Linked DNA regions of Homo sapiens: region 1 is linked to region 2. The links are contacts of gene promoters, found by promoter capture Hi-C in blood cells and fetal thymus (Javierre and others, 2016). All regions are on one chromosome and are shown on one strand. The core of a region is centred on a gene start or on the middle of the fragment in contact, and the rest is flanking DNA. Distances in the headings are between cores, read along the strand shown.

What was found. The method cuts DNA at HindIII sites, captures the fragments that hold promoters and counts their contacts. A CHiCAGO score of 5 or more calls a contact.
Region 1: a fragment that was not itself captured here is called in contact with the fragment with the promoter of TESC in region 2 in 1 of 17 cell types (total CD8 T cells); the score reaches 5.7 in total CD8 T cells.

What each region holds. Positions count from the first base shown.
Region 1 is chr12:116,710,607-116,714,730 of GRCh38, reverse strand. SPRING1 (SREBF pathway regulator in golgi 1) reads left to right here. Exons shown (of 5, transcript NM_024738.4): 5 at 1-4,124. Among named protein-coding and RNA genes, the nearest start is that of SPRING1, 25 kb to the left of the region's middle. The HindIII fragment of the contact is 584 bases long and covers 2,184-2,767 here.
Region 2 is chr12:117,096,090-117,100,665 of GRCh38, reverse strand. TESC (tescalcin) reads left to right here and starts at 1,250. Exons shown (of 8, transcript NM_017899.4): 1 at 1,250-1,441. The coding sequence starts at 1,384. It overlaps TESC-AS1 (TESC antisense RNA 1), which reads right to left and starts at 1,199. Exons shown (of 3, transcript NR_120464.1): 1 at 1,022-1,199; 2 at 26-213. RefSeq lists silencers at 34-251, 1,118-1,256, 995-1,514, 1,575-1,684, 1,755-1,854. The HindIII fragment of the contact is 9,670 bases long and covers 1-4,576 here.

The DNA of each region.
Region 1 (4,124 bases), core at 1,226-3,725, 390 kb after region 2:
CTCCCCCTCCTGGGTTCAAGCAATTCTCCTGCCTCAGCCTCCTGAGTAGCTGGGATCACAGGCGTACACCACCACACCCAGCTAAGTTTTTGTACTTTTAGTAGAGACGGGGTTTCACCATGTTGGCCAGGCTGGTCACGGACTCCTGACCTCAGATGATCTGCCCGCCTGAGCCTCCGAAAGTGCTGGGATTACAGGCGTGAGCCACTGCGCCCGGCATGGAGCTGCTATTGATGGGTGAGCTCCACAGCTTTTGCAGAAGCAGAGGATATGACTTGAGAGCAGTGCTGTCACCTCTCAGCATGTCCCCAAGCCCAACTGGGGCCTCCTGGAGATGCCTCAGTCGGCACTGGCCCCAAGGGAATCGTGGGGAACAGTTGCACAATTTGCAAGTTTCTGAGTGCAGCTTTTCCCATCCTTGGGATCAGCAGATAAGTTGTAAACACAGGGAGGTACTGCTTATTGGATATACTTTTCATAAGTAGGACAGAATTCTTTTGGGACTCTAGAGTTGGGAACTACCACTTACTAGCGGCGTGGCTGAGGCAGTCTTCCTCCTCTGTGGCTCAGGCCCTTCATCTGTGAAATGGGGTCACAGCATCTGCCTCTCAGGGTCACTGTGAGGTGTCGATGTGAGCAAGGCCTGAGGCTTGGCAAGAAGTCAATGTCTGCAACTCAGCAGGGAGCAATGGCAGGGGCAGTCAGGGGTCGGCTCGGATAGGGGTGGGTGGGCTCCTGAGGTTGGAAGGGTAGGAATTACAGAGCTCTTGTTACTATTGTTGTTACTGTTTTTAAAGATACGATATTTCAGATAATTCAGGAGCACGTAAGGATGAAACTTAGGATAACCTAAAATCACACAACCTAGAGAGAAGCGCATTTTTGTCTTCCCCCATTTTCTAGGCAAAAATGAAAGTACTTTGTCCTCTTGAAAAACAATTCTCTAATGAATATCCTATGTTACATAGAGGCCTGTGTAATGCATTTGTGTGGCCACATGGTGTCAATTTCATGAATATACAATAATATTATTAATTCCCTGCTGAGGACATTAACTGGTTTCCAAGGCTGCTTGTTGTTTTTGCTACTACAAATAATGCATTGATGATAAATACTTTTACATACATGGTTGTATGTTTATCTGAACTATTTTCACCAATATATTCACCTAGTGTGTATGGAAGTGTCCATTTTTGTCATACCCCTGGTAACCCTGTGATATTATTTTTAAACATTTTGCTAATGGATCTCTGTTCTTGTTTGAATGTATTTAATTTCCAGCAGAATGAGCCCCATTCCTTATTTTGATTGGCCATTTATCATGTACATATGGTGAAATGCCTATTCGTGACTTAGCCAATGTTGTTTCTTTTTCTTACTGATTACTACAGTACATTTTTATATGAAAGCAGCCTTTGTCCCCTTCTCTTGTTTTTCAGCCCTGTGTTAGAAACAACTAAGCTCACATATTCACAAACCAACTTTTCCAGTTCATCTAGGGCAGTGGTGCTCAACAGGGGCAATTTTGCCCCCCAGGGAACATTTGGCAATGTCTGGAGACATTTTTGTCACAGGTGGGGAGGAGGGCAGTACTGTGGGCACTCGTGGAGGGAGGCCAGGGATGGTGCCCAACAGCCCCCACGACACAGAATTACCTGGCTGGAAGTGGGAGCCGGGTGGAGGGAGGGAAGCCCTGCTCTGGGGTCATATCTCCCCGTTAGATTGAACAGAGGAGCTCCTGGTAGCTGAGTGCTGACTTCATTATTTTTCCCCGCCCTTGCTTTCTACCCTGCTGAAGTGCTGCTGATTAAATTACCCTGAAATCCCCACAGGACACATTACTTCCTCACAGGTCTCTACTAGCCCAGCGCTGCCTCAAGGAATGGCATTATTCCTTTGCCACTGTGTCCTCACCGCACTCTTGGACTCCGCCGAATGCAGACACCCTCCTGTCTGCAGAAGGATCTGGAGGGGTAGAACGCTTCCCCTCTACGACGGATTGACTCCCCAGCACCTCACCAGCAGTTCTTTGAATGGAGTGGCTTTGGAGGTGGGAGTTGAGGAAGAAATGTGAGCCTGTCATTACAGGTTCTGTTTAGAAAACTAGTCATTCTACTAAAAAGGTATCACATAAGTAAGTAGGAGCAATAAAAACAAAGAAGATAGTGGGACTCCGAGAAGCTTTCCCCGCCTCTGGCCTGTTAGTCTATCGTTCGTTGGGCAAGGCTCTTCCAGTGTGTGACCTTTTGCGTGTTATCACAGCATGAGTGCAGTTTTGTGTACAGGCATCCCTATATTCAGCATGTATCTGCAACATGCCTTACCTCGTCTGCTGTCACAGAGCAAAGTGGAGCAAGTGGTCGCCGTTGGTCTGCACCTGAGCTGGGAGCCGAGTGGTGACGTGCATATGGGCCGACTGCGTCTCCACAGAACCTACTCAGTGATCTTCCTGTGTACGACTCAGTCCCTGATGTTGGAGTTGAACTGTAGGACTGTCTGTAAAATGAAAGTGCAGACTTTAATGTAGTAAAGAGAATGACTTGCCAGTTACAACCAATGAGCAAAGCAGTTAATTATTCAAATATTTTACCAAGAGTCCAGGTTTATTTTTTCTCAGGACTACACATTCTGTGAGACCAGAGGGACCAAGACATATCACTACCAGAAATGTGTTTTCATCAGCACTGCCAGAGGTTTTCATAGGGTAGTTTACTCTTGGAATTTTTAAATTCATACTTTTTTTTATGCAACGTGGGGTAGGTAAGCTTCTGATCACTGTGCACCCAGATTATCCCAAAATCGAAAGTGGTGTTGGCAGCCGGGTGTGGTGGCTCACACCTGTAATCCCAGCACTTTGGGAGGCCAAGGTGAGAGGATTGCTTGAGCCCAGAATTCGAGACCAGCCTGAGCAACATAGGGAGACCCTGTCTCTACAAAAAATAAAAAAAAGGAGCCAGGCATGGTAGTGCACACCTGTAGTCCCAGCTACTCAGGAGGCTGAGGCGGGAGGATGGCTTGAGTCCAGGAGGTCAAGGCTGCAGTGAGCCGTCATTGCGCCAGTGTGCTCCAACCTGGGCCACAGAGTGAGACCCTGTCTGAGGAGGGGAAAAAAGTGTTGTCTAAATGAGAAATCACCATTATCAGTAATTTAAGATTCCAGGCTATGTTGGTCACATCTCACTATTCTTTTTTTTTTGAAACGGATTCTCGTTCCATCGCCCAGGCTGGAGTGCAGTGGCACGATCTGGGCTCGCTGCAAGCTCTGCCTCCTGGGTTCACGCCATTCTCCTGCCTCAGCCTCCCGAGTAGCTGGGACTACAGGCGCCCGCCACCGTGCCCAGCTAATTTTTGTATTTTTAGTAGAGACGGGGTTTCACCGTGTTAGTAGCCAGGATGGTCTCGATCTCCTGACCTCGTGATCCGCCCACCTCGGCCTCCCAAAGTGCTGGGATTACAGGAGTGAGCCACCGCGCCTGGCCACATCTCACTATTCTTAAGGAAGAGAGAGAGCGAGAGAGAGTGTTGTCCTGTCCTGTGGGGATTGGGGCATTGTATTAAGTTGTACTGGGGGATGTCAAGATAGAAATGTTGAGTAAGTTACTACCTGAATAAATATTTGACCAGTTGATGCTAATTTGAATAGTAAATGTGATGACATTATATATTCTCAGGGATGTTTCCATACATTGGCTCTGTGTGTGCGTGTGTGTGTGTGTGTGTGTGTAACAAAAGCAGTATGAAGTATGTGAGCAATATCCTAATTTTATTGACAAGAGCACTGACCTTAATGACCTTGAGTAAATTACCCTCTCCGGCTTTGGTTTCCTCATTTGTCAATTAAGGGTGATGGCTAGCGTATCTTGCAGATCCAAATTCCAATTTTTGTAACAAGCCAAAAGTCCCCCTGGCTGTTAAAGCAAGACCAGAGCCCTCGTATCCCAGCGGCTGGGTCCCAGGCTTTTGATTTTCACAGGACAAATGTAGCCCAGCCATCTGGAGCCCGTTTTTCTCCAAACCAGGGCTTCCTCCTTCTCTCTTGCAGATTTCAACTGGGGCTCACCATTTTCTGCCTCTTCCTCCTCCAGTTTTAAAGAGACACCATATCCTTCTCTGCTGGGACCAAC
Region 2 (4,576 bases), core at 1-2,500:
ATCGAGACTAACGTTCAGAACAGACCTGATACCTGACGGTCATTGATGGTGGTGTCACTAAGCACTGCAGAGCCTTCAGGAGAGCCTTGACCTTGATGTTCTGCCCTGGCTGTGTGCCTCTCCAGGGGACAAGATTCCATAGCGCCCACCAGCCTCTGTGGCCATGTGCTGTGTCCACGCCAGGCCCTCTGGTGGACATCTCATTAACTTATCCTTATTTTAAGGAGGAGGAATCACATTACACAGGCAACAGCATCGGCCCCAGTCACCCCAACTGGATGGAGAGCCAACCCCTCAAGCCATCTTAACCCAGAACTTCCCTAATGGGCATGGGGACCACCGGCATTGCCTTCTCTCCAGCAGTTTGTCCCAAATGCAGCCTCCTGGGCCCACTTCTGCAGTTGTTTTTTTGTTTGTTTGTTTTTTGAGACAGAGTCTTGCTCTGTCGCCCAGGCTGGAGTGCAGTGGCAAGATCTCAGCTCACTGCAACCTCTGCCTCCCAGGTGCAAGTGATTCTCCTGCCTCAGCCTCCGGAGTAGCTGGGATTACAGGCATGTGCCACCGCGCCTGGCTAATTTTTGTGTTTTTAGTAGAGACGGGGTTTCACCATGTTGGCCAGGCTGGTCTCGAACTCATGAGCTCAAGTGATCCGCCCGCCTTGGCCTCCCAAAGTGCTGGGATTACAGGCGTGAGCCATGCGCCCAGCCCGCTCCTGCAGTTTGAGGTGCCTCTCAGCCACCGGGCTGTGCAGGGCCCACACGGGCCGCCACGTGGGTGTGTTCACCTCAGAAGGTGCTGGGGCTTTCCTGGAAAAAACCAAAGCGCATGGTGCATTTTCAAATAGGATTATTATTACTGTTGTTCTCCATAGAGCTATTTCATGCTCGCTGACTTCCTTGACTATCTCAGTGGAGTTTCCCTCCTAAGATCTGGAGGATGTAAGGTGGGATGGGTTGGGAGTGGGCATAGCACCTCCCAGGGGTCCCACCCCTCCTACCCACGCCCCCAAATTTGCTCACACCTGCTTCCTTCCAGATCCAGCAGGTGTGCGGAAGGGACGAGGTACGTGAGCACTGCTGCACGAACGGGGACTCCAGAGCGGTGGGCTCCGGGGTCCCCTTCCCGGCGGTTTCCGGGCCGGGGCGGGGCGGGGCGCTCCCCTAGCCGCGCAGTGCGCGAAACCGGCGTGCGCTAGGACCGCGGCGCGCCGCCCTCCGCCGTTATATGAGGCCCCGCTCCGGCCCCACGCGGAACCCGCGGCTCCGAGCCTTCGCCGGCGTCCCGACCCGAGGCCGGACCCGAGGCCAGTCCCGCCGCTGCGCAGCCGAAGCCAGTGCGGGGCCTGAGAGGGACGCGCGCCCCGGGGCCCCCGCCGCGGGCACCATGGGCGCTGCCCACTCCGCGTCTGAGGAGGTGCGGGAGCTCGAGGGCAAGACCGGCTGTGAGTACCCGCGGGGGGCGGCGCGGGGACCGGGGCGGGACCTCCGAACGGCCACTGTTGGGGACCCCGGCCCGCCGCCGCGCTGTGTGACCTTGGGCCAGTGGCGGGCCCTCTCTGCGCCTCAGTCTCCTCCTCTTTCAAATGGGTCCCCGCTGGCCACCTCGCGGGCTGCGGCGAGGAGCTCCGCGGCGATGCTCAGTGCCGCAGCCGCTCAGCTTCGGACTGGCCCGGGAACTCCCTGGCCGGGGGACTGCGGACCGGGGAGGGAGCGGGGCCCAGGCTTCCCAAGCGCAGGGCAGGTGCCTCAGGCCGGGCGGGCAAGTCCCTCAGGCACCCCCGCTGGCGCGCGCGCCCCACACCTGAGAGTCGTTTGCATTCGTGAGCGCGAGAGCGGAAAGTTTTGAAGTCGGCGGACCTGGGTGGGAACAGGTCTCCGACGCTCCCCGGCCGGGTGACCTTAGTCGGGAGAGCCGGCGCCCGGCGCCTGCTTTCGTCCTCGCATCTGTAAAATGGGTTCAGGCAGCCTCATCCCCGCGGGTGGCTGGGAGACTTAGCGAGGCAGCGGCCGCAGAGCACTTTGCCCGGAGCCCAGCGTCCTCCCCTGAGTTCGCTGAGTCTCCCGGGACCAGCAAAGGCTGCGCGCCCCGCATCGGCCCGGAGGCGGGGAGCCCTGGGAGGCCTGGCCGAGCTGCCCGCAGGGAAATGGCGGAGAAAGCGCTTCTCTGCCCGAGTTCAGCCGGGCTGGGGACTTGGCCCTGGGTCCTGAACTCGGCATGGCCAGTTCTGCCTCTGGCTGTGGACCAGGGTGTGGACTGGAGACCGCGGGGGCCAGGTGTGTGGGCAAACCGGCTTTGGCGAGCGACAGACCGGCTGTGAACCCTGCCAGCTGCACTTCCTGGCTGTGTGACCTTGGGCTAGTCACTTTACCTCTCTGATTCTCAGCTTTCCTTCTCTGTTGTAAGAGTTCTCCTAGTACCTGGTAGACGCTCAGGAAATGGGAGCTGCAGATATTTTGGGAAAGAGCTAGCTCCTGGCACCTGCTTCAAGTGCAGAGAACCAGCGTCCAGTATTGATCACCAAGAGAGGGTGGCCCAGCTGTTTGTGTGTCAGCTGAAAAGCAACCCCTCTTGACCCCCAATCTAAATACCCCTTTCCAGGAGAACTGGATGAAAATTGCAGAAAACCATTAATAACTGGTGTGTGTATGCACGCACTTATACGTCTATATCTGTATCTCTGTGTGTGTAGAGATATAGAAATATCCAACTAAAGAAGTAAAAGGTGTGGCTCAGCATATATAATATGGTACCCTTTTTTCTGTTTTTTAAAAAAGGATCCTTTGAGCTGGAGCCGCAAAGTAAAAAGAAATAGAAAATGTAAAAAGAGGGGAAAATAAGAGTATACATTTGTAATTGCTATATTTGCAGACTGGAAGAATCCACCAGAAAGTACGAATGGATGCTTGGTGGGGGTTGCGGGGGGAGTGGAAGGGATGAAGGGAGAGTGAGCTTTTTCTCCGTAAACGTTTTTATATGTTCATTTTGAACTATGTTGGATATTTTACTTACTCAAAAAGTTTTATGCACTTCAATCCGAAGACTAATATGAGAGAGAAAGGAGGGATTCCTCTAGCTCTTACTTGCTTGGGTCTCCTCTGCTTTTATTATTTCTCATGTGCCCTCTCCTCGCCTCCCACTGCTTTGAATCTGGATGGGTGTCGATGGGCATTCTCTGTGGCTGGGATCCCCGTTGGAAGGGTGGGCTCTCCGGCAGCCCACGGGGCACTCGGGAATTCCACCTGGTTGTGGGTTTGACAGGGAGGAGGGGCTGCAGAGCATGCTGGGAGTCTTGTCAGTTTCCTGGGTCCAGCCTCCCACTGGGATGACAGATGCTGTGTTCCTGCTCTGTAACCTTCCTAGATGTAGCTGCAGCGGCTTCCCTTCTTGCTGCCCAGAGCTCAGACTTCATAACCCAAGGGAGATGGAGAGGGTCGGAGAGGAGGTTCTGAGGTTAGACTAGAGTAGGCAGGTGGAACTTTAGGTAGGTGGAAAGTTGCCCCCAGTCCTCCGAAAGGGACTGCGTAATTCGGTCACTTTTGCCCACTTAGCAAATATTTATAGACCAGGGGCTGGGGATTTAGAGATGACTCGGAGAGGCTGCTGTTCCTGGAGGGGGACACACAGTAAACAAAACGCCCGACAGGTGTTAAACTGTGAACGAGGCATAGCAGGGTGGCATGAGAATGGAGCTTTAGGGTGGATCCGGAGGTCCTCCCTGAGGAGGTGATAATGGAACAGAAATCCAAGTAAGAATGAGCCAGGGGTGTGCAAATCAGTGGAAAGGGCATCTCGGGCCGAGGGGACGTCGAATGCAGAGGCCCTGTGGCAGGGACAAGCCAGCAACAGTAAATAAGAATGCATGAGATGAGGACACAGCTGTCGTCAGGGCTCAGGCTGTGGCAGGAGCCTGGCTTCAGGGGCCTTGCCAGGTACCTTGGGCAAGTCACTTATGCTCTCTGAGCCTCAGTTTTATCTACTATAAAATGGGCATAGTCATAGTACCTCCCTTGAAGTTGTTGGGAAGGATTGAGTTAATATACATGAAGTAGTTAGACCAAACACATGTACATGGTTTGTTATTGACCATGCTTTAAACACTCTTGTATGTCCTGGTCGCTCCGAGCCATAGCTGAGAGTTGAGTCTTGGTCCCACCTCTCTGAGCTACATGACCTTGGGCAAGTCATCTTACTTCTCTGAGCCTCAGTACCCCCACCTGGATCCTGAAGTCATTGTGTGGATTTGATAAGGTTACGTGCGAGACGATCGGCTTGGCATGGGAACGTCAGCTCCCAGAGACCCAGTGGGTCAGGCAGGGCCCTTCCTCCAAGGCCATTCCCTTGGGAATCTTCCCTGAGAAAAAGGGAGAAAAGCCTCAGGGTAAGGTGGCCAGAGGACAGACTGAGCCCACAGGGCTGCTGACTCCCCCGCCTCCCTGAGGACCAAGATGACCCCTGACTTTCTGGGGAGGAATCAGCTTGGTCCCTTTCTGAGAACACCATCCAGAAAGGACCAGAAGGTCAGGCTGAGGCTGGTGATAATGAACATAATTCCCCAAGCACCTGCTGAGCATCAGGC